Regions from separate parts of the Homo sapiens genome. Here regions 1, 2, 3, 5 and 6 are each linked to region 4. The links are contacts of gene promoters, found by promoter capture Hi-C in human tissues and cell types (Jung and others, 2019). All regions are on one chromosome and are shown on one strand. Each heading gives the region's core, a stretch centred on a gene start or on the middle of the fragment in contact. The rest is flanking DNA. Distances are from core to core; before and after follow the strand shown. Region 1 holds the start of KCNJ14 (potassium inwardly rectifying channel subfamily J member 14). Region 2 holds the start of RCN3 (reticulocalbin 3). Region 3 holds the start of AKT1S1 (AKT1 substrate 1). Region 4 overlaps GYS1 (glycogen synthase 1). Region 5 holds the start of EMP3 (epithelial membrane protein 3 (MAM blood group)). Region 6 holds the start of NOSIP (nitric oxide synthase interacting protein).

Region 1 (4,696 bases), core at 874-3,373, 530 kb before region 4:
GCTCAGTCTCCCAGGTAGCTGGGATTACAGGCATGTGCCACCACACCCCGTTAATTTTTGTATTTTTAGTAGAGACGGGGTTTCACCATGTTGGCCAGGCTGGTCTCAAATTCTTGATCTCAAGTGATCTGTCCGCCCCGGCCTCCCAGAGTGCTGGGTTGGGATTACAGGCGTGAGCCACCGCGTCCGGCTCAGGACCCAGTTTTGGCTGCTGGTTCCCAGCAGGGGACTCGGGGGATATACAGTGGCTGCACCAAATTGGAGGTGTGGGTTCCTCCAACACAATTTGCTTCTGCCCGTTGTCTTCCTGCCAGCTGGGTTTGGCCAGGATTTCTCCGTGTGGGGGCTACATGCGACCCTCTCCCCTCCTCCCTGACTTTAGAGGCTGGTGCTGTGTCGGGAGGAAGGTCAGGGCTCCTGAGCAGCAATAAAGGACCAGGAAGAGGCCTGAGGTGTATTTGAGACTCTGGTCCTTTGGCCACAGCCCTATGAGGAAACGGGGTGTGGGGGGAGTTTGGGGGTGGGGAGGAATTTGGCACCAGCTGCCCCCAGGCCGCTAGGCTGGGGGAGGCCACTGGGAGTCCAGTGCAACCCAACCTTCCGCCCACTGGGTGCCGCCGCGTTCTGCCTTCTCTAAGTGTCCTTCCATCTGGAACTCACTCTGGCTTAGTGAAAGGGGCCTCATCCCTGACCCCCACCAGCTTATGAAGGCTTCATCTCAGGGAACTCTGGACCCCCCATTTCTCCCTCCGTCCATCTCCCCTTTATCACGTTTCTTTCTTTCTTCTCTGTGTCCCCCTCTTTCAGAGTCTCCCGTCCCCCACTGCCAGTCTCCCTGCCCCCTAGTCGCTGTCTCGCTCCTCCGCCGCTGTCTCCTGTCCAGCCTGCCTGGGCTGTGGCCCAGCCGCTCTGCCTGGCTGGCCTCCCTGGCTCCCCCTCTGCGGCTCTGAGCTAGCCCCACCCCCGGCCCCCCTCCATCCAGCCTCTGATCCATCTGTGGACTCCGAGGTCGGGTGCCCGTCACACGGCCCCTGGGACCAAGGACAGACTACAGCCCCTCAGCACCCACAGAGGCTTCCCCTCAGCCCTAGCCGAGGAGCCCCCAGCGGAGGGCATGGGGGTGGGCCGCCCCAACAGGTACGTGCCTCCATGCAAGGCACCGCTGAGCCATCCCCTCCTGCTCTGCTGCGTCGCCCCCATCCACCCCTGCCCCAGCATCCCTGTCCTCAGCTTGTCCCCTTCAAGAAGGCCTTGTCTTCCCATCAGTGACAGGCTCAGCGCCAGGAGAATCCACCCCCAGGTTCAGTGCCTCCAACTCTCACCCCATCCCCATTTTATGCATTTTCTCACTGGCTTCCATCCTTTCAGAGAAACCCTCTCAGTCTGTCTGTCTCTGTCTCTGTCTCTCTCCCCCATCTCTGTCTCTCCCATCTCTCTCTGCCTCTCTCTGTCTTCACAATTTCATCTCCCCATGTCGCCATTTCTTAAAACATTTCTTTTCTCCTTTTCGTTTTCCCAATTGCCCTGTCCGCCTCTATCTTCTCTGTCCCCCTCCATCTAGGTCTCTGTCCCCCCCTCTCTCTGGGTCTCTGTCCCCCTCTGTCTCTGAGTCTCTATCCTCTCAAGGTCTCTGTTCCCCTCTCTCTGGGTCTCTGTCCTCTCTCAAGGTCTCTGTCCCTTTCTCTCTGGATCAATGTCCCTTTCCTGCTGCCCTCTCTGGGTCTCTGTCCCCCTCTCTCTCAGGGTCCCTGTCCTGCTTGGTCCCTGTACTTTTTCTTGGGGCACCCTCTCAACACCCCTCCTCCTGCCTATCTCTGCATCTCTTTGTCTTTCTGTAGTCTCTGCTTTCCAACCTGCTGTCCAGCCCCCACCAGTAGGTGGGGAGTGGTGGGGAACACCCCTGGTTTCGGAAGAGTGAGAGTGTTGATTTGGGAGGGTGAGGGTGGGGCCTGGGGGCGGGGCTTCTTGGCCTCAGATTAGACAGTGACTTTGACACGAAGTTGAAGCACCTTAAGCCCTGTATCTCCTTTATATGGAAACATTAAGCTGCTCTCGCAGGTCAGGTGGAGGATCCCTTTCCCTCCCGCCCTGCTTTTGCTAGGGGAGGGGGGTGCCCTGAGCCTGAGTCGCAGCCAGCCTGGGAGCTGGGCCATGTTGGCCGCAGATGGCCCCCTGGTGAAGGTTCCCGTTGGCTTTGGGAAGTAGACAACGGGTCTGCCTCACGGGGCTGAGGTGGGACTGGAGGATTTCGAGGGCAGAACTCTGGGAAGGAAAGAAAGGCTTAGGACCCAACCAGCATTCCCCCTGGCACTGCGGGGGCCTGGCCAGCTCATGGCGTTCCCTGAGCCTGTTCCCCAACTGTGAAAGGGGGTGATGATCTTCACCTCCCGGCATCCTGAGCGGCCAAGGTGAGCAGTGGGGTCTGAGAGTCCAGTGGGGGCTGTGGGCATGTCGGGAGCTCATCACGAGGCCTCGTACATACCAGGTGTGTTTGAAACCAGAGTGCTCTTGAGAAGACTGTGGTTTGTCACTCGGGCCGTGGCTCCCAGGAGGCCTGGGTGGGAGGCTAGCTTTTGCCACTCCTCTCCCCACTGGCTGAGAGACCTGCGACAAGGGACTAACCTCAGCCCCAGTTGGCTTTTCTGTGAAAAGCCAGGTCCCTTCATCAAAGGGCTTTGGTGAGAGATGGGCAAGTGGGGGTGAGAGGCCCAGGCTGGGGCCTGGGGAGCACAGGTCAGTGTCAGTGCCCACCTGCCCCCCCAGCCCACGGGGGTGGTTCCTGAGGGTGGAGTCAGTGCTGAGTGGGGATCCCCAGGCTGGGGAGGGCTGCAGGTGTAGATGCTGCATCCTGATGTTGACCTCCAGGCCGCCCCCTTGGGCAACGAGCCTATTTCCCCTTTTTGGGAGAACAGTCTCTAACATGCAGGGTTGTCAGGGGTGAGATAGAGTCAAGGTTGGGGTACACTGTGGGCACTGGACACAGCCAGGCTGGTCCCCTCACCTCAGCCTTGCCTCTGTCAAGTGGGCCTAATGAACCCTCGCGAATGGCCAGGCTGCCTGCGTGGTTGTGGGAAGCAGGTGCAGGGCTTTGGGAGACCCAGTTGGTGCCAAACTTGACATTGTCTCATGGTCTTCTTTCCAAATGGAGTGTGCCAGGCCCTGCCAAGAAGCCCCTGAGGATCCCCAGGTTCCAGCACAAATTATTTAACCCCTGGAATGGTTTGTCCTGATCCAGCCAGTTCCTGGGAAGTTCCCCACCACAGGGCCAAGCGTTTGGTAACGTTGCAGTGAACCCTGAAGGCAATGAGGGGTGCGGGTCCATGCCCAGCCCTTTCCTTTGGTCCACCCTGACAGGCTGCTGCGATTCCCTCCATTTCTTTTCTTCCTTTATTTTTTATTTTTAATTATTTATTTATTTTTTAGAGACAGGGTTTTGCTGTCTTCCCCAGGCTGGTTCTCAAACCCCTGGCCTCACGCATTCCTCCTGAGTTGGACTCCCAAAGTGCTAGGATTACAGGTGTGAGCCACCGCACCTGCCCTCTTTTTTTTTTTTTTTTCTTTAAGAGATAGGGTCTTGCTCTGTTGCCCAGGCTGCAGTGCAGTGGTAGAGCATCATAGCTCACTGCAGCCTTGAACTCTGGGCTCAAGTGATCCCCCACCTCAGTCTCCACAGTAGCTGCATCACCATGGCTGGATACTTTTTGTTTTTAAGATAGGGTCTCGCCATGTTCCCTAAGCTGGTTTCAGACTCCCGGGTTCCAACAGTCCTCCCACCTTGGCCTCCCAGAGTGCTGGGATTACAGGTGTGAGCCACCATGCCCAGCCCCCAGGCCTCCTGCCTTTCACAGATGAGAGCTGAGGCTCAGGAAAGGATTTGACCTGTCATCCATCACACACCTAGTAAATGGTTGAGCAAACTGAGTCTCTGGAAAAAGAAGCCAGAGATCCCAGGGGACATGGTGGGTGAGCAACTAAGCCAGGACTGGGCCCTCATCCATATGGTAAGAAGGCCCTTCCTGGTCTTTTAAGAAGTCCCAATTTCCCCACCTTACAATGGAGGAAACCGAGACTCAGAAAGAGTTGCCAAAGATCAGAGGGTCGGGCATGAGGCCCATTTCATTTATTTTACAATAGCTTCATTGAAATCTAATTCACATATCATATCATACACTCACTACAGGGTACAATTCAATGGCTTTTAGTGTATTCACAATTGTGCAGCCATCACAATTAATTTTTTTTTTTTAAATGGAGTCTTGCTTTGTCGCCCAAGCTCGAGTGCACTCGTGCACTCTCAGCTCACTGCAACCTCCACCTCCCGGGTTCAAGTGATTCTCCCACCTCAGCCTCCCGAGTAGCTGGGATTACAGGTGCGCGCCTGTAATCACCATACCCGGCTAATTTTTGTTATTTTTAGTGGAGACGGGGTTTCACCATGTTGGCCAAGCTGGTCTCGAACTCCTGACCTCAAATGATCTGCCTACCTTGGCCTCCCAAAGTCCTGGGATTACAGGTGCGAGCCACCGCACCTGGCCAGCATAATGTTTTCAAGGTTTATCCATGTTGTTGCATCTATCGATACTTCATTTCTCTTTATTGTCAAATACTATTCATTGGATGAATATACCACATTTTATTTATTCATTAGTTGGTTGATACTTGGGTTTCCACCTTTTGGCTATTATGAGTAATGCTG
Region 2 (4,573 bases), core at 697-3,196, 540 kb after region 4:
ACCCCAGGGGAGGCCCAGGATGCTGATTTGAAGGATGTAAATGTGATTCCAGCCACCGCCTGACCATCCGCCATTCCGACTGCTAAAAGCGAATGTAGTCAGGCCCCTTTCATGCTGTGAGACCTCCTGGAACACTGGCATCTCTGAGCCTCCAGAAGGGGTTCTGGGCCTAGTTGTCCTCCCTCTGGAGCCCCGTCCTGTGGTCTGCCTCAGTTTCCCCTCCTAATACATATGGCTGTTTTCCACCTCGATAATATAACACGAGTTTGGGCCCGAATCAGTGTGTTCTCATCATTTTTCAGGCAGGGGAGGTAAGGGAATAAGTCGGGGGACTGAATGGCGGCTGGGCCTCGGATCTCTCCTACAGGTAACATGCTGCCACAGGGGAACCTGCCAGTTTTATACATCAGGTCATGTATTTTCTTTTTCTTTTTCTTTTTTCTTTTTTTTTAGACGGAGTCTTGCTCTGTTGCTCAGTCCGGAGTCCTGTGGCGCGATCTCGGCTCACTGTAAGCTCCGCCTCCCTGGGTTCACGCCATTCTCCTGCCTCAGGCTCCCGAGTAGCTGGGACTACAGGCGCCTGCCACCATGCCTGGCTAATTTTTTGTATTTTTAGTACAGACGGGGTTTCACCATGTTAGCCAGGATGGTCTCGATCTCCTGACCTCATGATCCACCCGCCTCTGCCTCCCAAAGGGGTGGGATTACAAGTGTGAGCCACCGCGCCCGGCCTAAGGTCACTTTTTTTTTTTTTTTTTAAGACAGAGTTTTGCTCTTGTTGCTCAGACTGGAGTACAATTGCGTGATCTCAGCTCACTGCAACCTCCGCCTCCCAGGTTCAAGCAATTCTCCTGCCTCCCAAGTAGCTGGGATTACAGGCATGCACCACCACACCCGGCTAATTTTTTGTATTTAGTAGAGACGGGGTTTCACCATGTTGGTCAGGCTGGTCTGGAACTCCTGACCTCAGGTGATCCACCTGCCTCAGCTTCCCAAAGTTCTGGGATTACAGGCATTGAGCTACTGTGCTCAACCTGAGGTCATGTATTTTTAATTCATAACTTTTACAAATATTTACTGGATGACTGCCATGCCAGGCATTTTGAGGAATTCTTGGCTACTGTCTGACCACCTGAATCCTTGGAGCCGAAGAGGAGCGAGGAGCAGTGTTCACTCTTGGAGGAAATGGGATATTTCCTCCGGCCCCTTGATTCTGCTCTCCCTTTTCTTTTCTTTTCTTTTCTTTCTTTTTTTTTTTGAGACGGAGTTTCGCTCTTGTTGCCCAGGCTGGAATGCAATGGTGCGATCTCGGCTCACCACAACCTCCGCCTCCCAGGTTCAAGCAATTCTCCTGCCTCAGCCTCCCAAAGTAGCTGGGATTAAAGACATGCGCCACCACACCCGGCTAATTTTGTATGTTTAGTAGAGATGGGGTTTCTCCGTGTTGATCAGGCTGGTCTCGAACTCCCGACCTCAGGCGATCCGCCCGCCTCGGCCTCCCAAAGTTCTGGGATTACAGGCGTGAGCCACCGCGCCCGGCCTTTTTTCTTTTCTTTCGTTCTTTTTGTTTATTTTTGTTTTGTTTTGTTTTGTTTGGTATAGAAGTGTTGGAACGTACACCTCTTTCTTAAACCATCCTGACAAAGGGAAAGGGAAAAATACATTTCCCGTGAGGCGTTGTGACTAGAACAGCTGGAGGTGGACGGCAGAGTGCCGCGACGACTGCCAGGAGTTGTAGTTCTCCCCGGCCGCGTCACTGCGGTGTCGCCCACCCTTCTTCCCCGGGCAGGCCGCGGTTTCCTTTGTGGACGTGGCGAGGAGTGCCCGCGGCACCCCGTGCACTCATTGGCCCCGCCCCGTGAGACGCTCGTGCGAGCTCATTGGGCGGGGGGCGGGGCTCTGCGCTGCCAGAGGCGGGGCCTGACTGGAGAGCGGCCGAATTGGGCACATTTGCGGGAACGCAGAGCGGAGCGTGGAGAGCGGAGCGAAGCTGGATAACAGGGTAAAGGGAGTGGGTGGGGGGCCTCTGTCCAGGGAGGGCGGCTCGGGTCGAGGACCAGGGTCCGGACTGGGAGCAATGACGGGGAGCCTGCCTGACCTCTCGCTGGCCACAACTATGCCCTGCACCTTGCGTGGGATGTGCGCCACGTCTGTCTCTGTAATTCCCCCTGGCAGGTCTGGGACCCCCCTGAGACTCCGTCAGAAGATTCGGTCCTCCCCATAGGTGGCTTTACCTCTAAGCATCCCGCCCTCTTTTCCCCCATCGCCCGCCCTTTTTGAGCCCGAAAGCTTGCAGCCAACTTCCAACTCCCTGTCCTGTCCTAGGTAACCCCTCCACCCCGCCATTCTCCTATCCCGTGTCTGTCCCCATCCCTGTGACCCCTGACCCCTGGCCTTTGCCACTCCCCAGGGACCGATGATGTGGCGACCATCAGTTCTGCTGCTTCTGTTGCTACTGAGGCACGGGGCCCAGGGGAAGCCATCCCCAGACGCAGGCCCTCATGGCCAGGGGAGGGTGCACCAGGCGGCCCCCCTGAGCGACGCTCCCCATGATGACGCCCACGGGAACTTCCAGTACGACCATGAGGCTTTCCTGGGACGGGAAGTGGCCAAGGAATTCGACCAACTCACCCCAGAGGAAAGCCAGGCCCGTCTGGGGTAAGAGAGACATTCGGTTGGGGCGTGTCCAGAGGTGGGGCTTAGGAGAGAGACGCGGGGGTATCGACAGGGGTCAGAGAAATGGCGTGGACTGAACTTCATTTCTTTGTGAGAAATGAAATTCTACCTTCTATCCTTGGGAAAAAGAAATTAAGTTAAAATTGAGGCCTAAAGAGGACCTTTGAGACCGGGCGTGGTGGCTCATGCCTGTAATCCCAGCACTTTGGGAGGCCAAGGCAGGCCGATCACTTGAGGTCAGGAGTTCGAGAACAGCCTGGCCAACATGGTGAAATCCCGTCTCTACTAAAAATACAAAATTAGGCAGGCGTGGTGGTGGGCACCTGTAATCCCAGCTACTCGGGAGGCTGAGGCAGGAGAATCGCTTGAACCTGGGAGGTGGAGGTTGCAGTGAGCCAAAATTGCACCACTGCCCTCCAGTCAGGGCGACAAAGTGAGACTCCGTCTAAAAAACAACAACAACAATAAAAAAGAGGACCTTTGAGGGCAGCAAAATCTGGGTTAGATTCTGCCCCCTAAGCGCTCCTTATTCTTTTGTCCCAGACATCTCCCCTCCCCAAGCCTCAGTTTCCTGCTCTGTAAATGGCAGGGACTGGTGTGGAAAATGAGGTTTGGCCTTTAAGGAGCCCGGCCAGTGCAGGAGAGTGGCAGAGCCCTGAGTTTCAGGGTGAGCTGGGTGGAATGGAGCCCTGTCCACCCTCTCCGTCCAGGCCTGAGCGCAGGGGGGCGCGATGGGAGCAGCCGCCTTCTTCTGTGCATCCTCCTGACACTGATTGAGCCTGCAAAGGTTTATCGAGCACCTGCTATGTGCCAGGCACTGCTCTAGGTGCTGAAGTCACAACAGCTAACACATCTGTCCTCCTGAAGTTTACACTGTGGTGAGGGAAACAGCAAGAAGTCAATAAGTAGAAAGTGGATCAAATAGAGATAAATGCATCCAAGAAAGATAAAGCAAGAGAGTCAGAAAGTGTGGAGGGGAGAGGTTGTTGGTGGGGGGGAGTTGCAATTTTTATTTATTTATTTATTTATTTATTTACTTATTGAGATGGAGTCTCGCTCTGTCACCCAGGCTGGAGTGCAGTGGTGCGATCTCGGCTCACTGCAACCTCCACCTCCTGGGCTCAAGCAATTGTCCTGTCTCAGCCTCCCAAGTAGCTGGGATTACAGGCGCTAGCCACCACGCCCAGCTAATTTTGTATTTTTATTTTTTATTTTTATTTTTGTTGTTGTTGTTTTTGAGATGGAGTCTCGCTCTGTCACCCAGGCTGGAGTGCAGTGACGTGATCTCGGCTCAGTGGAACCTCCGCCTCCCGGGTTCAACCAGTTGTTCTGCCTCGTACTCCCTAGTAGCTAGAGTCCTAGCTACAAGTGAACGCTACAAGTCCTAGCTACAAGTGAACGCCTCCACATCCAGCAAAGTTTTTTTTCTTTCCTTTTTTTTTTTTGGAGACAGAGTGAGACTCTGTCTCCCGGGCTAGAGTGCAGTGGCGTGATCTCAGCTCATGCAACCTCTGCCTCCCAGGTTCAAGCAATTCTCCTGCCTCAGCCTTCCGAGTAGCTGGGACTATGGGTGCACGCCCACACGCCCAGCTAATTTTTTTTTTTTTTTTTGTATTTTAGTAGAGATGGGGTTTCACTGTGTTGCCCAGGCTGGTCTCGAGCTCCTGAGCTCAGGCAATCCGCCCGCCTTGGCCTCCCAAAGTGCTGGAATTAATGCGTGAGCCACAGCACCCAGCCCAGGCCCAGGTAATTTTTCTTTTTTTTCTTTTTTTTTTTTTTTTGAGACGGAGTTTTGCTCTTGTTGCCCAGGCTGGAGTGCAGTGGCGCAATCTCGGCTCACCACAACCTCCGCCTCCTGGGTTCAAGTGATTCTCCTGCCTCAGCCTTCCGAGTAGCT
Region 3 (4,746 bases), core at 1-2,500, 890 kb after region 4:
CCCACACCCCAAGATGTGAGGAACCTGAGCATGAACGCGGTAGCCATGGGGTGAGCGCCTGGGGCCACGCTCAGCTGCCCCGAGACCTCCCAACCTCGCCCGGGGTCCAGGGAGGACCCACTGGTCTAGGAAGAAAACAGGAAATCCCGCCCAGACGGAGGCCAGGACCGGAAGTCCCGCCTTTGGACGGGTGAGGGGCGCCCCGAGGCCCCCCAAACCATCCCCCGACCCCGTGGACGTGGTCCACGGCCCAGGTAGAGATCCCAGGCGCTCTGGAACCGCAAGGTGAGACTGTCTACGATTTGCCTCAGGTCTGACAGGACGATTCCCACGGGCGACCCCCTTCCAGCGCTCAGCAAAGGATCGCTGGCAGACCTCTGCCCTCTGATCTGTGCAGGCCATACCCCTCCCGTGAGCCGCTCGCCCTCCCAGCGCCCCGCTGCCTCAGGACGGCCAAATCCTCCCCACACCGCGGTTAACAACGCCGCCTCCACTCACGTGCCCGTAGCCAGCATGGCCGGCCCGGCGCCGTCACCGCCCTCAAAAGACATGGCGGCGCCTTGCGTCACGTCCGCGCAGTTGCCCCGCCTCCTCTCCGCACACTCCGCCTCCCTTATCGGGGCCGCCCGAGATCAAGATGGCGGCCACAGGGGCTTCATCCGAACCAGTTGACAAGGGTGACGACAGCTTGCCCCTAAGAAAAATGGCCCCGCCTAGAGCATTTCCATTTGCCCCCAACAATAATGGCCGTCCTCATATGCTCAATCATGACCACAGTAAACGAAGGCAAGCGACCTGACGTCCCTGACCCACAATAAACTTCTTCGACAAAAGTAGAGGAAATCGGTGCTCGTTAACAACATGGCAGCCAACCGGGCTTAATCAGCCCATAGTGTATATTGGCTCTCCCTCCCTCCAACCTGCTCCCATTCGGCACGAAGGCTGGCAAAGATCCAACACGGCAGCATTTCTTGCTTCGGTTTGCCAGGCTTCAAAATGGCGGCTCAGCCCGCTTTCTCGCGACGGTGACTCAGAAATTCGTCCGGGGCCGCTTCGTTTCTGGGGGCACTGACGGCTTCATCCCGTTATCCTGAGTCCCTCAGTGCCTCTTGTGGTGTACAGCTCCTCTCACCTCCTCTTCTCTTATCCGTTCGGCTCTTCCAGCTGTCGCGCCCCGCAGAGAGATGGGACAGCCCCGTATTAACATGGCCTTAGCTGACCGGCTTAGGCCATGCCCTCGAGCAAAATGGTACCTCCTTGGCTTCAATTCCAGTATACAATATGGAGAAGGAAGTGGGCGTTTCAAGGCGTGCTTGCCCCAGGTGGTGCAGCTCTCAGACCCTCCCACTTGTTTACTTCGTGGCGAGAGGGCGAACACTGCGCCTGCGCACTCTCCGTAGCCGGATCCACCTTCAGCGTCTGCGCCACGTGACTCCGATCCACCCTCGAGGTTCCAGTGGAATAACCCCCTTCTGAAAAATGGTTTCACCCGCTCCTTCTCTAGAACGGGTCGGGCCGCTACCACTGTCCGGCCCGGAGGGGAACTGTTTTCTCCGGAAGTGACAACACGCTGACTAGGAAAAGGAGGAGGCGGGGCAGTGGGGCCTTCGGCGGCGACTATGGAAGGAGCCGGCTACAGGGTAAGCACTGAGGACGCATTCCCTCGCTTCAGTGTATGCGAAACGCCCCGTCTAGTGATCAGCTCTTCTCTCAGGCCTTGGCTCTCGAGAATCCGGCACGGCCTTGGCAAACACCGATCTCTTATAAACGCGCCGTCACCCTCCCGTCCACCGCCCCAGGGAAGAACCTCCCATGGCCCCGCCCCCCCGGCTCAGGCGACTCCTTGAGCCCTGCCCCCTGTGGAACGCACGTCAGCATCCGAACGCGGGCTGGACCATTCTCCCCGCCTTGGTCCCGGGGCAATGGCCCTCCCGGCCCCGCCCCCTGAGGGTGGCTCCTCCCTGGGCCCGTCCCTATTGGCTCCCCAGGCTGGTCCCCTCGCTTGGGCCCCAGCCCTCGCTGGTTCCCCCCAACTCAGGTGGTGTTTGAGAAGGGCGGAGTGTACCTGCACACCAGCGCTAAGAAGTATCAGGACCGAGACTCTCTCATCGCTGGTGTCATCCGTGTCGTGGAAAAGGTGCGCTGGGAGGGAGCAGGGCTCGGACCCGCTCCGAGCGGGATGCAGGCGGTCTGGGATGCAGGCGGCAGCTGTAGGAGTTTGGTCTGGCGGTCAGCAGTGGGACCTGAAGAAGGCTGGGTGTGGGAACTGGAATGAGGGGCGGGACTTTGAAAGGCTGAGGGTAGAAACTGGGAAAGTTTGGAAATTTGCAACGGAAAGTTTTGGGAATGTGGTTTGGGGAGCGCCTCTAACCCCGCCTCCCTCCTTACCCTAGGACAATGACGTCCTCCTGCACTGGGCTCCTGTAGAGGAGGCTGGAGATTCCACCCAAATCCTCTTCTCCAAGAAGGTAGGCTCCACCCGCTTTGCCCTTCTCCACTCGCTTTTTTTCTAGGTCCGTGCTGTTGTAAGTCATTTGAGGGACCTGCGTACAATCCCAGACCTACTCGTGGGGCATGTGTGACCCTGTTTAGGCTTGGGTACTCTGCCTCTCCTTTTGCTCCTCTCTGTGAAATGGGCAGAGGATGCCCATTCAAGGAAAAAGAGCAGGGAGCATAAGACGCACGGTCGTGGGGACGGCTGACCCCTCTCTCCCTTTGCTTCTTGGGAGATCCCTGCCAGGGTGCAAGATGTGGATTCGAGTTGCTTGAAGGGAAATGGCATTTCCTCTGGTGCCAGAGGACAGGGCCTGACAGCCTACTCACCCACTTCGTCACTGCTCCCGGCTTTCCCTTCGTTATGTCTCCTGGGACTTCCCATGGCTGGACCCCGTCCTGGGCAATTCTGAGACCCAGAGATAAGTCAGATCCAGACCCACCTAAGCCCTGACCCTTACTCACTTTTTGAGAAACTGATAGATGAGGTCGAAAACGCTAGGAAGTGTTGGAACTTTTTGCACCCAGACAGTCTGATTCCAGATCCCCAACGCTTCCTGGGAGAGCAGACATTTGAGCTGGGACTCCCAGGATATGAAAGGACAAGAAGGTATTTCAGGGACAGCAGAACAACCTTCAAGGCACACGGAGAAGTTGGATGCCTCTGTAGGGGGGTTCTTTAGTGGGGAATGAGACCTCCATTGGAGCTGATGAGTTCCACCCAGGGGCCGGAAGTCAGTCGGCACCCACAGAGCTAGTGACGAGACACTGGAAGGCTGAGCTGACCACCTGCGCTGCCCCAGGGCAGGAGGATGAAGATGAAGATGAAGATGACTCTCCACCTTGCTCCACAGCCAAACACAGCCAAGGCACCAGGAAGTTGCGTTACATCACTTCCGCTTTCCAGGTTGGCCTGCATCTGGTTGGTAGAATTTGTCCTGTGTCCTGGATTCCAGCTGCAAAGAAACCTGGGAAATGTAGTGTGTTTTTTTTGTTGTTGTTATTGTTTTTTTTTTTTTTTTTTGACAGTCTCACTGTCTCAAAAGAGTGCAAAGTGGTATCTTATTGTGGTTTTGGTTTGTATTTACCTGGTGAGTACAACAGTGTCCATTGAGCACTCCGCAGCCTGACTGCAGAGCCACCTGCTGTGTAGCATGGACCTCCCCATGCAGTGGGAGACATGGGGTCAAGTCCTGGCTCGCTCTCTGGCTGCATTGGGTGACCCTGAGCAAGTGCTGTACTTTCTTTTTTCTTTTTTTTTTTTTTTTTTTAATGAGACAGAATTTGCTCTTGTTGCCCAGGCTGGAGTGCAATGGCGCCATCTCAGCTCACTGCAACCTCCGCCTCCCAGGTTCAAGCGATTTTCCTTTCTCACCCTCCCGAGTAGCTGGGATTACAGGCATGCGCCACCATGCCTGGCTAATTTTTTTGTATTTTTTTAGTAGAAACGAGGTTTCTCCATATTGGTCAGGCTGGTCTCGAACTCCCGACCTCAGGTGATCCGCCCGCCTCAGCCTCCCAAAGTGCTGGGATTACAGGCGTGAGCCACCGCACCCGGCCTGCTGTACCTTCTTTGTGCCTCAGTTTCCCTCTTTATTCAATGGGGCTATCTTCCAGGGTAGCCTCGAGGCTAAGATCTGAATCCATGGCCCCTTACTGTCTGCTCCTTTCCTCTCCTAAGGACTCCAGTGGGGGTGACTCATGTGCTTCTGAGGAGGAACCAACCTTTGACCCCGGCTATGAACCTGACTGGGCTGTCATCAGCACTGTGCGGCCACAGCTCTGCCACTCAGAGCCCACGAGAGGTAGGCTGAGGTGGCGGCCCTTGAGAAGCACGTGTGGGCCAGGTAGGACACATCTTGCCCTCAGTGGTCACGGTCCCAAGGGCTTTGCTGCCCACAATCAAGAAGGCCACCAGTCACCACCTTCCAGTCCCAGGAGCATGGAAGTGAATGGGAAGACAGGACTGTCCCAGCCCAGGTCAACATGGCCAGTGTCTCTGAGACTGCAGCCTTGCTCATCCTACTGGGCTCCCGGATTGGCTGTGGGTGCTCCCACACCAGGCCTGCCCCTGAGGTTCGAGGCTGGTGGGGTGACAGATGCAGCCAGTTAGGGTGATTTGCACCATCCTGGGGTCACACAGGGTGCAGGGGACATCCAGAGAAGGCACGTGACCCCTCTGGGGAATGGAGATTCCTTCCAGGAAGAGGTGATGCTGGAGCTTGGCACTGAGGGACTCTTGGGAGTTTTCTC
Region 4 (4,387 bases), core at 720-3,219:
TCCCAAAGTGCTGGGATTACAGGCATGAGCCACCGTGCCCAGCCTGGAAACTAAGCTTCTTGAGCCTCTTAAAACCTAGAAGGGGGTCAAAACCAGGTCAGGCTGGGGATTCATGAGCATCCAGGGCAGCATCTGAGAGCTGAGTCCAGCAATATCACACTAGAGAACTACAACTCCTAGAATTCCTCGGGCAAGCCCGCCAGCCTCACTTTGAGGCTGATTCCAAGAATCCCTATGCTTGGAAGACTAGAGTAAATGAAGTTGGCATCGAGAGTAGAGCCTGGGCCCTTGGATGTTCATGTCCTCAAAGGCCAGAGCTAATCCTTGGATTAAAGGACCCTATGACTCCCAGAATGCCCAGGGAGAAGCCCATCCTCTGGCCCAGGGGCTGATGGTCATTGTAGTTTCAGGTATGGGTGGAATGTGTCAGACGGGGCCTACCTCACCCAGGAACCAGGTGGTCAGAAAGCCAAAGAGGACAGCGTCGTTGGCCTCGCGGTCGTACCACGGCACTCCGATGTTGCAGGTATCCCAGAGCTCTCCCTTCCAGCGCTCCAGGGCCCAAGCTGAGGCACCCACGTCCAGGAGCACCACCAGAGGGCCTCCCTCGATCAGCCAGCGCCCGAAATACACCTGGGATGGGGTTGGGGAGGCACCATAGGGAGGCTCTGGGCTTCAGCCTCATATCTTCACTCATCCGTGGTTCTCCCATTTGCAGGCAGATGTCTATAGACTTAAGCCTCAGCTCTCTTATCTTCTGTTTCCATATCTGCTGCTAATTTCTCACCTGCTGCCTTAGCCTTACTTCTCTATTTGCATGATTTATTCCTGCTACACATTTTTTCCATCTCTGTTGCAATATTTTCCGTGCCCCCTGCTTACTTTCTTTCTTTCTTTTTTTTGAGATGGAGTCTCACTCTGTGGCCCAGGCTGGAGTGCAGTGGTGCGATCTCAGCTCACTGCAACCTCTGTCTCCCGGGTTCAAGCAATTCTCCTGCCTCAGCCTCCCAAGTAGCTGGGATTACAGGCACCCGCTCCCACACCTGGCTAATTTTTTTTTTTTCTTGAGACGGAGTCTGGCTCTGTTGCCCAGGCTGGAGTGCCGTGGCATGATCTCGGCTCACTGCAACCTCTGCCTCCTGGGTTCACACCATTCTCCTGCCTCAGCCTCCCGAGTAGCTGGGACTACAGCGGCCCGCCACCACGCCCGGCTACTTTTTTTTGTATTTTCAGTAGAGACGAGGTTTCACTGTGTTAGCCAGGATGATCTCCATTTCCCGACCTTGTGATCCGCCCGCCTCGGCGTCCCAAAGTGCTGGGATTACAGGCGTGAGCCACCGCACCCAGCCTCCTGTTTAATTCCTGTAACTGCTACCCTTCTCCCACTCGCTGCCTCCTTTCTCTGCTTATAACCACATATGTCACATGTCCTGTGTCTATGCCCCCACTGCCCTGTCTGGCCACTCTGCAAATCATTTCCCCTACCTGCTGCCTTGTTTCTGTACTTGCTGCCACATTTCTCTTACCAACCATCTGCATCTCCCACTGTCTTTTCTTTCTGATGCTAATTCCTTCCACGGGATGCTTCTTTTTTGTTTTCAGACAGGGTCTCGCTCTGTTGCCCAGGCTGGAGTGCAGTGGTGTGAACATGGTTCACTATAGCCTCAACCTCCCTGGCTCAGTCAATCCTCCCACCTCACCTCCTACAGGCGTGGGCCACCATGCCAGGCTGATTTTTTAATTTTTTGTGGAGATGGGGTCTCACTATGTTGCCCAGGCTGATCGTGAACTCCTGCGTTCAAGCAGTTTTCTTGCTTAGCCTCCCAAAGTGTTGAGATTAGAAGTGTGAGCCACCTAAAGCAGGCCCTTTTTTATTTTCAGAGACGGGGTCTTGCTCTGTCCTCCAGCCTGGAAGGGAGTGGTGCAATTACGGTTCACTGAAGCTTCGATCTCCCAGGCTCAAGCAATCCTTCCACCGCAGCTTCCCACGTAGCTGGGACCACAGGCACAAGGTATCACATCCCGGCTAATTTTTAACTTTTTTGTAAGGACAGGGTTTCACCATGTTGCCCAGGCTGGTCTCAAACTCCTGGCCTCAGCCTACCAAAGTGCTGGGATTACAGGCGTGAGCTACTGCACCCAGCCTGTAATGATTCTCTTACTGTTCATGCTGCCACTTTTCTTCCCCATGATGCCTTGTTTCTGTTCCTTTCATCACATATCTGTCACCTGCGACCTCTTTCCTCTATCCATAGGCCCATTTTGTAGTCCACAGCCTCCTTCCTTCCTTCCTTGCTTCCTTCCTTCCTTCCTTCCCTCTCTCCCTCCTTCCCTCCCTCTCTCCTTTTTCTTTCTTTCTTCCATTTTTTTTTGTTTGTTTTTGTTTTTGACAGGGTCTCACTCCGGTCACCCAGGCTGGAGTGCAGTGGTGCAATCATGGCTCACTGGGCTGGGCGCGGTGGCTCACGCCTGTAATCCTAGCTCTTTGGGGGGCCGAGGCGGGCGGATTGCCTGAGCTCAGGAGTTTGAGACCAGCCTGGGCAACATGGTGAAACCCTGTCTCTACTAAAATACAAAAAATTAGCCGGGCGTGGCAGCATGTGCCTGAGGTCCCAGCTACTTGGGAGGCCGAGGCAGGAGAATTGCTTGAACGCGGGAGGCGGAGGTTGCAGTGAGTCGAGATTGTACCACTGCACTCCAGACTCAGCGACAGAGTGAGATTCTATCTGAAAAAAAAAAAAAAAAAATTATGGCTCACTACAGCCTCCACATCCCATCCTCCCACCTCAGCCTCCTGAGTAACTGGGATCACGAGCACGCACCATCATGCCTGGCTAATTTTTTGTATTTTTAGTAGAGACAGAGTTTCGCCATGTTGCCCAGGTGGGTCAGGAACTCCTGGGCTCAAGCTATCCTCTCACCTCGGCCTCCCAAAGTGCTGGGATTCCAGGCATGAGCCACCGCCCTCGGCCACGCCACACATTTCTAACATAGCCCATCCTCTGTCCGTGCCCCAGGGCTGCATTTTTCTAGCCACTGCCGTGTTTCTAAGACTTGCTGTCTCACTTCTGCCTCTGCCACATTTCTCCAGTTGGCTGTTTTCCTCCCTGAGACCATGGCTTTGGTTCTGGGCCTGCTGCCACAGCAGTGGAGAAGCAGCCCCGCTCCTCGCCGACCTGGCTTTTTGCTGCCTGGAGCCTCGCTCTGAGGTCCCTCCCCCTCCCAGCTGTTGTCTGCCCTTTTGCTGGGGGGGGGGGGGGGCTATTCTTAGGCCCCCAGCACGTGGGAAGCAGCTGCCCTCAGGAAGCGACTGGGCTGTTCTGGGTTCCCTTAGGGACACAGTCGGACCTGAATGGATTCCAGACCCCACCCCAAACCAGAGGCTGTGAATGAGTAAAGGAACCACAGTGCCTCTCCATCCCCAGCCTGGACCTGTCTGTCCCTTAGCCCTGCCGCCTGATGGCTTTCTCCTTGGACAACAGCGTGCCGCCTGATGGCTTTCTCCTTGGACAACAGCGTGTCTCTTTCCGTCTTCACCCTGGGGCCCTGGAACTCCCCCTCCTCTCTAATCCCTGATCTGCCCATCTCAGACTCTGTCCTGTGGGTCTGTCCACTGACCTCTCCTCTCTTCCCCGATATTCCATGCTTCTCTCTCCTTCTAGGACTGGCTTTCTGAAACATCTGGTGGCCTCTCTTCTGTCCCCAGTCTATTACTCTTGCCTGTGGCTCCATCCACCCTTCTCCCTTGGTCTGCCTGTCCCCCTCACTCTCCAAGCTTGGCTGTTAGTAACAATAATGACGATGATCATAACAATGACAATCACCGCCCACACAATGTGCTACCTTCATGCCAAGAACTCTACTAACCACTTTGTCCTTATTAACTGTTTCCTCCTCCCAGCACCGCTAGAAGGTAGACGCTATTAGCATGTCCATTAGCCAAGGACACACAGGCAGCAAGTGGAGGGTGAACTTGAACTTCAAGCTCCAGAATCCTGCTCCTTCCTGACCTCAGGCCCACTTCTCCCCAGCTCTGCCTGGCTGGCTGGCATTCTTTTCTGAGACAGAGTCTCGCTCCGTCGCCCAGGCTGGAGTGCAGTGGCCCAATCGCAGCTCACTGCAACCTCCGCCTCCCGGGTTCAAGCGATTCTCCTGCCTCAGCCTCCCGAGTAGCTGGGATTACAGGCACCCGCCACCACACCCAGCTAATTTTTGTATTTTTGGTAGAGACGGGGTTTCGCCATGTTGACCAGGCTGTCTTTCGATCTTGCTCTCTTTCTCTCTGGGTCTGAGGACCTTGGCCTCTTGGATCTCCGTCTCAGTCTGTCTCATACTTGCCATCTGTCTGTCCATTCGCCCATGTCTGGGATCCACCCACCCACTTCCA
Region 5 (4,043 bases), core at 1,544-4,043, 660 kb before region 4:
TAATGTATTTACTATTATCTCTATTTTTCAGATGAAGAGACTGAGGCATAGAGAAGTTATTAGTAACTTGCCAAAAATTACACAGCCATTGAGTAAAACAGCTTGGATTTTGAGTCCAACCAGTGTGGCTCTAGAGTCTGTGCTATACTGGTATTCCAGCTTCCAGGTCTTGGGGTACCCAGCCAAGCACTGAACTGTCCATCCCTCACCCCCTCAGGGAGCCCGAATCACCAACAGCTATCCCAAACCCAGCTCTGGCCCATCAGATACCCAGACATCCCATCATCCAGTTCCCTTCCCTGGATCCAGGATTTGAATTCCCCTGCTCTCAATTTATCAGAGTTCTGGGCACCTGGTCCCCTCCCAAGAGACTCGTGTACATAGTAGTCATCACCCCGACCCTAATTTAATATCCCCAAAATTAATAATAATAGTTAACAGTAAACCTTTGGGGCCAGGCACAGTGTCTTACGCCTGTAATCCCATCATTTTGGGAGGCCAAGGCAGGCAGATCACTGGAGGTCAGGAGTTCGAGGCCAGCCTGGCCAACATGGAGAAACCCCCGTCTCTACTAAAAATACAAAAATTGGCTGGGCGTGGTGGCGGGCACCTGTAATCCCAGCTACTCAGGAGGCTGAGGCAGGAGAATCGCTTGAACCGGGAGGTGGAGGTTGCAGTGAGCTGAGATCATGCCACTGCACTCCAGCCTGGATGACAGAGCAAGACTCCATCTCAAAAAAAAAATAAAAATCTTTGGTACTACACTCTGTTAAAACCTAATGGCTTTCCACTGCACTTAGAATGAAATCCAAGCCCCTCCCCTAGTCTTCAAGGGCACCCTTTGATTTCCCTTCTCACCACTCCCTCTGTCTCCCTGTGCTCCAGCCACACTGGCCCTTCTGTCTGCTCCCTAAACAACCTGAGCTTGTTCTCAAAAGCTTTAAGAGCTTTTGCACTTCCTCTCCCCCCGACGCCCCCCCACCACTCCCCAACCCCAGCGTTCAAATGACTCCTGTCTTCAGCTCAAATGTTACCTCCTCCAAGAGGCCTTCCCTGATTTTCCTGTTTCAAGTAGTCTTCCCTGCACTCTGTCATTATCTCCATCACTCTGTTTGATTTATTATTGTATTTATTTTTCTTTTCTTCTTTTATTTTTTTTTTTCTTTAAGATGGAGTCTTGCTCTGTCACCCAGGATGGAGTGCAGTAGCGTGATTTCAGCTTACTGCAACCTCCGCCTCCCGGGTTCAAGCAATTCTCCTGTCTCAGCCTCCTGAGTAGCTGGGTTACAGGCGCCCACTACCATGCCTGGCTAATTTTTGTATTTTTAGTAGAGACAGGGTTTCACCATGTTGGCCAGGCTGGTCTTGAACTCTCGACCTCAGGTGATCCTCCAGCCTTGGCCTCCCAAAGTGCTGAGATTACAGGCATGAGCCACCACGTCCAGCCTATTGTATTTATTTTTCAAGTCACTTATCCTTATCTGAGATTTATCTTCATCATTGATGTTTTCTCTTGTCTGTCTTCCTCTACTAGAATACAAGCTCCATAATACCAGCAGGGCTCATGTCTGTTTTCATTATTAACTCCCAGATCAGAGTACATGTTCAATAAATGTTTGATGAAGGAAGGAACAGGTTAGGTGTGTGAGTGTGCCAGTATTACCTTATTCATTCAGCATAAGTATCAGAATTATTATTATCAGTATTAGTATTTTGTCAGCATTATTATACTCTCAACATAGACTAAGATACTGGAGCCCAGGTGGGTGAAATAATTGGCTCAAGGTCACTGAACCAGGAAATGATGGCGCTGGGATTCTTAGCTTCCGCTTCCTCCCCGCTTCCAGAGTTTCACAAGGTTTTTTTTTTTGTTTGTTTGTTTTTTGTTTTGTTTTGTTTTTTTTTTGCGACAGAATCTCACTTTGTCCCCCAGGTTGGAAGGCAGTGGTGCAAACTCAACTCACTGCAGCCTCCACCTCTCGCGTTCAAGCGATTCTCATGGCTCAGCCTCCCAAGTAGCTGGGATTACAGTCGCCCGCCACCACGCCCGGCTAATTTTTGTATTTTTGATAGAGACGGGTTTCCACCATGTTGGCCAGGCTGGTCTCGAACTCCTGACCTCAGATGATCTGCCCGTCTCGGCCTCCCAAAGTGCTGGGATTACAGGCGTGAGCCACAACGCCCTGCCGAGTTTCACAAATTTCATCTCCCATCCTCTGACCCCCCACCACGGGGCCAACTTCACCAGCCCAATCTCAAGTCCATGCCACAGAAATCTGGCCTCTTTTCCCAGACTCCTATCCAGCTCCAAGCTCCATCAGGGAAAGCAGACATCCGGCCCCAGGGCAAGACCTCAAAACTCAAGGGTCCTGAGAATCGGGCCCTCCCACCCCTGACGCTTGCCCCCCCCAAGAACCCCATTCCAAGAGTTTCTCATCTCAACCCTGGGAGGGAGCCCCAGATGATGTCTGTCTGGAGGGATTGGGTGGGGGCCCAAAGAAAGAGGAACCGGAGTGCCTGGGCCCTCCCACTGGCAGCCGACCTCAGCTGGGTGCGGTGAGGGTGGGTTTATAAAAGGGTCAGTATATATTGAGAGGAGGAGAGAAAGAGAAACGGGAGCAAGAGAGAAGGAGGCCCAGACAGTGAGGGCAGGAGGGAGAGAAGAGACGCAGAAGGAGAGCGAGCGAGAGAGAAAGGGTTCTGGATTGGAGGGGAGAGCAAGGGAGGGAGGAAGGCGGTGAGAGAGGCGGGGGCCTCGGGAGGGTGAAAGGAGGGAGGAGAAGGGCGGGGCACGGAGGCCCGAGCGAGGGACAAGACTCCGACTCCAGCTCTGACTTTTTTCGCGGCTCTCGGTAAGTTTCCAGTCCGTTATTCAGGGCTGGGACTTCTTAATTTACTTGGGAATGTAGCAGTTTGGGAAGGACACCCCCAGGCTGGGAGAGACGTCCCTGACTCTTGGAAATCCTTTTAATTTAATAAGTGATCTCTTAGCACTTGAGGTGGGGATATGGGAAGGGGTGGGGCCCGGCAAAGTTTTGGGGTCCCAGCAGAGCCCTCCACTGGAAAACTTCCTGCAGTTTTTCCCTCAGCGGTGTCCACTGTCCTCTGGGGTCCCTGAGATCAGGGCATTGCATGAGAACACCCCAAATCTGGGAGACCTCTAGGTCCCCTGTTCCTGGGCACCAAAGAGTCCTGGGAGGCTAACTCCTTCTTGGGCCTCTCTTCCCCCCAGCGCGAATCCTATCCATTTCCTCCAGAAGATGTCCAACAGTCACCAGTCTGGCAGCAGGGTGGGGTGAGGACCTCGTGGACATAGCCAGGGGCTGGGGTTTCCCTGGTGCTTAGAGATGGGGGGGGGTGGGGATGAGTCACCAGATGACTCACCAGGTCCCCCTCCTCCCCTCAACCCAGGAGAGGAGTGGTGTGAGTCAAGAATGCCTGTTGCTGGGGGCAGCTCCTCAATCCTGATGTCGGGGTGCAGGGTGGGGTCTCAACTTGAATTTTCACTATCTGGCCTGTATGTAACCCAGAGTCAGGGTTCTGGGGAGAGAGGAGCCACATTGCTAGTCCTCCTCATTCAAGGAACCCAAGAGTCCATCTTTGGCCCTCTCCACCCCTCCAGCCAATGGGGATCTCAGGAATCCAGGCCCCAGCGGTCTCCTCCCTGAGAGACCCAGGAGTCTGCACCCATGCCCTTCCTCCATCAGGAGACATCTCACCTGCCTTTATGCCAAATTTTTTTTTTTTTTTGAGACGGAGTCTTTCTCTGTCACCCAGGCTGGAGTGCAATGGCATGATCTTGGCTCATTGCAACCTTTGCCTCCTGGATTCCAGTGATTCTCCTGCCTCAGCCTCCCGAGTAGCTGGGATTACAGGTGTGCACCACCACACCCAGCTAATTTTGTATTTTTAGTAGAGATGGGGTTTCACCATGTTGGCCAGGCTGGTCTCGATCTCCTGACCTCAGGTGATCCTCCCGCCTCGGCCTCCCAAAGTGCTGGGGTTATAGGCGTGAGTGTGCCTGGCCTGTGCCAACCTCTTGA
Region 6 (5,044 bases), core at 2,483-4,982, 590 kb after region 4:
TGATGAGCCAAGATCGCACCATTGCACTCCAGCCTAGGCAACAAGAGTGAAACTCTGTCTCAAAAAAAAAAAAAAAAAAAAAAAAATCAGGATATCTGATAAGGGAATTGCAGTGAGAATATATTAAAAACTTACAACTCAATAATGAAAGGACACCTAACACAATTTGAAAATGGGTAAAGGATTGGAATAGACAGTTCTTCAAAGATCTACAAATGGCCAATAAGCATGTTAAAAGACACCAGTTCACACCCCCTAGAATGACTATAATCAAAAAGATAAATAATAAGTGCTGGTGTGGATATGGAGAAACTGGAACCCTTATACATTGGTGGTAGAAATGTAAAATGGTACAGCCATTCTGGAAAAGTCACAGTTTCTCAAAAGGTTAAATAGTCACCTTTTGACCCAGCAATTCCACTGCCAATAGAAATAAAAACATACATCCATGCAGGCGGGGCGCGGTGGCTCATGCCTGTAATCCCAGCACTTTGGGAGGCCAAAGCGGGCGGATCATGAGGTCAAGAAATCGAGACCATCCTGGCCAACATGGCGAAACCCCATCTCTACTAAAAATACAAAAATTAGCTAGGCGTGGTAGCGCATGCCTGTAGCCCCAGCTAGTCGGGAGGCTGAGGCAGGAGAGTCGCTCAAACCTGGGAGCCGAGATCACGCCACTGCACTCCAGCCTGGGTGACAGAGCAAGACTCTGTCTCAAAAAAAGAAAAAAAAAGAAAAGAAGTATATCTTGGGTAAAGGAATATTATCCAGCCATAAAAAGAATAAAGTAGCTGGCTGGGCGCCGATGGCTCACACCTGTAATCCCAGTACTTTGGGAGGCCAAGGCAGGAGGATCACTTGAACCCAGGAGGTTGAGGCTGCAGTGAGCCATGATCGAACCACTGCACTCCAGCCTGGGTAACAGAGCAAGGCCGTGTCTCGGGAAAAAAAAAAAAAAAAAGAAGTATTGATACATGCCACAACATAGGTGAACCTTGAAAACATGCTAAATGAAAGAAGGAAGGCAGTCACAATAATATTTTATGGTTTCATTTGTGCAAAATACCCAGATTAGGCAAATCCACAGATATAGCAGAGTAGTGGCTGCCAAAGACTGGGGTGGGAAGGATTGGGAGGAAATAGGGAATGACTGCTAATGAGTACCAGGGTTTCTTTTTGGGTGATGAAAATATTCTTAAAATGATAGTGTTGATGGTTGCACAACTCTGTCAACGTACTAAACACCACTGAATTGTATATTTTCAATGGGTGAACTATATGTTAGGTAAATCATATCCCACTAATGCTTTTTTTTTTTGAGAGGGAGTTATGCTCTTTTGCCCAGGCTGGAGTGAAGTGGCATGATCTCAGCTCACTGCAACCTCTGTCCCTAGGGTTCAAGCAATTCTCCTGCCTCAGCCTCCTGAGTAGCTGGGATTATAGGTGCCAGCCACCATGACCAGCCAATTTTTGTATTTTTAGTAGAGATGAGGTTTTACCATGTTGGCCAGGCTGGTTTCGAACTCCTGACCTCAGATGATCCACCTGCCTTCACCTCCCAAAGTGCAAGGATTACAGGCATGAGCCACTGTGCCTGCCCAATGGGGATTTTTAAAACAGGTAGCTGGCAGGATTTGAGTTTGGTCTGTAGAACATAATTAGCTGATCCCTGGCATGAGGAAACAAGTAAAATGAGGCCGGGCTCAATGGCTCACACCTGTAATCTAAGCACAGCACTTTGGGAGGCCAAGGCAGGAGGATCGCTTAAGCCCAGGAGTTTGAGACCAGCCTGGGCAACATAGTGACACCTTGTCTCTATCTATTTTTTCTTTTTTTTTTTTGAGACAGAGTCTCACTCTGTCGCCCAGGCTAGAGTGCAGTGGCGTGATCTCGGCTCACTGCAAGCTCTGCCTCCCGGGTTCACGCAATTCTCCTGCCTCAGCCTCCTGAGTAGCTGGGACTACAGGTGCCTGCCATCATGCCCGGCTAAGGGGTTTCACCGTGTTAGCCAGGATGGTCTTGATCTCCTGATCTCATGATCCGCCCGCCTTGGCCTCCCAAAGTGCTGGGATTACAGGCATGAGCCACTGTGTCTGGCCTATTTTTAAATACTTAAAAAAAAAAAGAAAGAAAACAGAAGCAGGTAAAATGAGACCACAAAAAAGCAAACGGGACAAATTCAGATGGTGGGATGATCAACTGAACTAGAATTAGTTTCTTCAATGAATCGATTACACCAAGAAATAACCAAAGTGGAGTGGAAGGGGGAACAGTTCTAAATTAAGAGAGATGTAAAAGACGATAGCAATTACTTAACTATATCCTGATTCCAACAAACCCACAGTTACACTGGACTTGACTCTGCACCACGTAATGGATAGTAGTCTAGAATTACGGTTGTTCTTTTAAAGTGTGATGATGGTATTGTGGTCATATCAGCAATGTTTCTGGTTTTTACACACGCACCCTGTTAGATAAAATTTATAGAAGGTCATTGGTTTGGATTGAGCTCCTGCACTAGGTTCAACAGACCAAACCAAAATGGAGACACTCATGCTAAAGTTCCATGCTTCCAAGCCAAAACTAAGTTGATATCTGATCTTCTGAGATATCAGGAGAGAGATAATAGCCAAATCCCCAAACAACCCAGTTTTAGCCCACCTGATAAAGGAAGTCCCCTCTACTTTAACCTTTAACTTAGAAATTTAATCAAGTTAATCAATTTAATCAACTAGCTTTTTGTTTTCCGTTTCTGATTTTCTCAGCCCTTTGTCTCTGAAAACAACCTCTGCTCAGCTCATCGGAACACTCACGCTATTTTCCATAATTAGATGTTGTTTGATTGTAGATTCACGAATAAATGCCAATTAAGATCTTCTCACTAAATGTGTTGCAATTTTGTCTTTTGACAATCCTTAAGTGTCATGATGCCTACGATTTGTTTTAATCTCTTTAAGTTTAAAAAAATACAGCAAGTATGGCAAAAATAATCATTGGTGATTTGGGTGACAGGAATTCCTGTATTCTTCTCTCACTTTTATATAAGTTTGAACATTTTCGTAAGAAAACATTAACATCAAACTGCCTCAAGGACCGTTCAAGCCCCAAGTTCACAGAATTAGCAGCACAATCAGAATGGGAATCCATGACTGCCTGACCCCGAAGCTCCACACAAGAAAACGTGAATCCCTGCACCAACCCCGAAAGGGAAGGGGCTGTCAAAAAGGTGAAGAGAAGGTGGCGATGGATGACTGCACAATCTAGTATCGCCCGCCGTCCCACCACAGTCTGAGAAACTGAGGCCAGGAAAGGAGTTCTCCCTCCTCAACTCCCACTCCTTAGACCCCCAGCAATCCCAGTCCACTCCTTCCCTTGGGACCACCAGCAAATAGCCATCATCTACAGCAGAACTGTAACTCTCAGGAGAACTGGCCGATGCTAGCTACCACTTGACTGAGTTTATAGTGAGAGAGAGAGACAAAGAGAGAGAGAACTGCCCGATGGACGGTTGGCCACCTCCAGCAGAGTGTAGTTCAGCTTCAAACTTGGGGCGCCCGGACAGCTGTATTAATAATGATTGACAGGGAATCGGGAATCCAAAATCTTGCCCCAGTCTCCCTCAAGACCCCAGGCCTCTAGCCCGCAGGAAAGCGATCCCAGCAACACTCTTCCTGCACCGCCTCGAACTCACCTCACTAACGACTCCCAGTCCCTCGGTCGCTTCTTCAACTGTGCCCCGACACCGGAAAGGAGCACTATTTTCCCCCTCCGCTCCGCCCACTTCCGCCCAGCAGAAGGCACCGGAAGTAGAGCTGCCCCTAGTTGCGGAAGTGCCTCGCCTGGCTTGCTCAAGTCCTCTCTTCTCTTTCTCTCTCCGGAAACGTGAGTAGCTAATCGAAAGTTCCGGATATTGAAACTGGTGGGAATATGGGGAACGCTTACTATGTACGAGGCATTTCCCAGGGAGATCGTTTTTTCCTGCTTGGTTCCCAGGTTTTGAGTCTCTCCAAGCCCAAATTTAAGGACTAATCACTTCCCCTAGAGATCGGGAAGCCCACTTTCCCAAATATATCATCCACTTTTCTTGCTGCATCTTAAAACAATTGAGAAGAGACAACTACGCTCCCATTTTACAGACAGAGCCATTGGGAAATTGAAAATCAAAGCCGTTCAAGTCGCTCTCAGGAAACAGGGATTTACTGCGGCACTGCCCAGCTGTCCCAGGGACTAAGGCATATCGTTCCCGCTAGTTTCTAGATACCTAGAGACCTAGATATTAATTTTTCTAGCTCGGACAGACGAACTCCCAGGGGAGAGCCAGAGCGGGTAGGGGTCGGGAGGGAGGAGGAGGGTCGAATCTAATCCCCCAGGTATCCCATGGTATTCGACACCTTGGCTTCCTCATGGAGCTCTGGCCTTTAAGTCCTTTATCCCAAGGTCCCTTTAAATACTTTGTCCCTTACCTGAGTCCCGCCCAGGGCAGGTAATGGCAAGTTCCGCCCACCTGCCAGAAACGGGGATCAGGCCTGGTTACCGGGAGTGGGGCGCCCCTCCTCCTTATCCCCTCCCCTCTTCCCTGTCCCCTTTCACAGCTGGCTGTAGCTGGCCAAGGAGTTCTCGATTAAAGAGGAAGGGGCAGTGCTCACATTTCTGGGCAGGTAAGTGAATGTCCCTGGAGGAAGAGCCTGGCTTGGGGACCCAGGCATCCTGGCTCCCCGCCCCTCCGAGACCCAGAAGTTTGGGGCTCCTAGGCCCAGGAGTCCAGGGCCCCTGCCCACTTAGGTCCCTAGACCCAATAATATAACTAATCCCCTGCCTCTGCCTCTCTCGTAATCTTTGTTGTCTGTGGGTGGATGTGACAATGAGCACAGAAAGAGGCACAAGTGGAAATTACCAGGAAGGGAAGACTCCAGATCACCAGTGGACATGTTTATAAGCATCTGTGTCAGGTGCTGTAGACACAGTGGGGAAAGAAAGATAAGCTGCCTGCTCCTTGCTTTCTTCTCTGGCGGACACTGCCTTCACTGAAATCCTGGCTCTCACA

The links. The method cuts DNA at HindIII sites, captures the fragments that hold promoters and counts their contacts. A contact is called where the count stands out against the background at its distance.
Region 1: the fragment with the promoter of KCNJ14 here is called in contact with a fragment that was not itself captured in region 4 in 1 of the 25 tissues and cell types used here (H1 embryonic stem cells).
Region 2: a contact is called between the fragment with the promoter of RCN3 here and a fragment that was not itself captured in region 4, in 4 of the 25 tissues and cell types used here (dorsolateral prefrontal cortex, heart left ventricle, lymphoblastoid cells and 1 more).
Region 3: a contact is called between the fragment with the promoter of AKT1S1 here and a fragment that was not itself captured in region 4, in 1 of the 25 tissues and cell types used here (dorsolateral prefrontal cortex).
Region 5: a contact is called between the fragment with the promoter of EMP3 here and a fragment that was not itself captured in region 4, in 3 of the 25 tissues and cell types used here (dorsolateral prefrontal cortex, lymphoblastoid cells and spleen).
Region 6: the fragment with the promoter of NOSIP here is called in contact with a fragment that was not itself captured in region 4 in 1 of the 25 tissues and cell types used here (dorsolateral prefrontal cortex).

The regions. Positions count from the first base shown.
Region 1 is chr19:48,453,451-48,458,146 of GRCh38, forward strand. It overlaps KCNJ14 (potassium inwardly rectifying channel subfamily J member 14), which reads left to right and starts at 2,124. Exons shown (of 3, transcript NM_013348.4): 1 at 2,124-2,408. It overlaps GRWD1 (glutamate rich WD repeat containing 1), which reads left to right. Exons shown (of 7, transcript NM_031485.4): 7 at 1-3,572. The HindIII fragment of the contact is 6,064 bases long and covers 1,887-4,696 here.
Region 2 is chr19:49,526,057-49,530,629 of GRCh38, forward strand. It overlaps RCN3 (reticulocalbin 3), which reads left to right and starts at 1,947. Exons shown (of 7, transcript NM_020650.3): 1 at 1,947-2,002; 2 at 2,411-2,658. The coding sequence starts at 2,417. It overlaps FCGRT (Fc gamma receptor and transporter), which reads left to right. Exons shown (of 7, transcript NM_001136019.3): 7 at 1-372. The coding sequence ends at 63. RefSeq lists an enhancer at 1,863-2,441 and a silencer at 1,905-2,024. The HindIII fragment of the contact is 21,368 bases long and covers 1-4,573 here.
Region 3 is chr19:49,876,105-49,880,850 of GRCh38, forward strand. AKT1S1 (AKT1 substrate 1) reads right to left here and starts at 1,251. Exons shown (of 5, transcript NM_001098633.4): 1 at 1,133-1,251. It overlaps TBC1D17 (TBC1 domain family member 17), which reads left to right and starts at 1,598. Exons shown (of 17, transcript NM_024682.3): 1 at 1,598-1,640; 2 at 2,039-2,137; 3 at 2,394-2,468; 4 at 4,175-4,298. The coding sequence starts at 1,620. RefSeq lists enhancers at 1-831, 415-1,054, 1,235-1,574, 1,792-2,751 and a silencer at 1,795-2,084. The HindIII fragment of the contact is 21,916 bases long and covers 1-4,746 here.
Region 4 is chr19:48,986,753-48,991,139 of GRCh38, forward strand. It overlaps GYS1 (glycogen synthase 1), which reads right to left. Exons shown (of 16, transcript NM_002103.5): 3 at 442-633. Among named protein-coding and RNA genes, the nearest start is that of GYS1, 4.4 kb to the right of the region's middle. RefSeq lists a silencer at 1,700-1,882 and an enhancer at 3,013-3,404. The HindIII fragment of the contact is 7,422 bases long and covers 1-4,387 here.
Region 5 is chr19:48,322,759-48,326,801 of GRCh38, forward strand. It overlaps EMP3 (epithelial membrane protein 3 (MAM blood group)), which reads left to right and starts at 2,794. Exons shown (of 5, transcript NM_001425.3): 1 at 2,794-2,852. LOC124904735 (a long non-coding RNA gene) reads left to right here. Exons shown (of 2, transcript XR_007067284.1): 2 at 32-764. RefSeq lists a silencer at 1,809-2,040 and enhancers at 2,618-2,667, 3,268-3,317, 3,608-3,677. The HindIII fragment of the contact is 22,631 bases long and covers 1-4,043 here.
Region 6 is chr19:49,576,824-49,581,867 of GRCh38, forward strand. NOSIP (nitric oxide synthase interacting protein) reads right to left here and starts at 3,733. Exons shown (of 9, transcript NM_001270960.2): 1 at 3,692-3,733. PRRG2 (proline rich and Gla domain 2) reads left to right here and starts at 4,493. Exons shown (of 7, transcript NM_000951.3): 1 at 4,493-4,658. The HindIII fragment of the contact is 33,716 bases long and covers 1-5,044 here.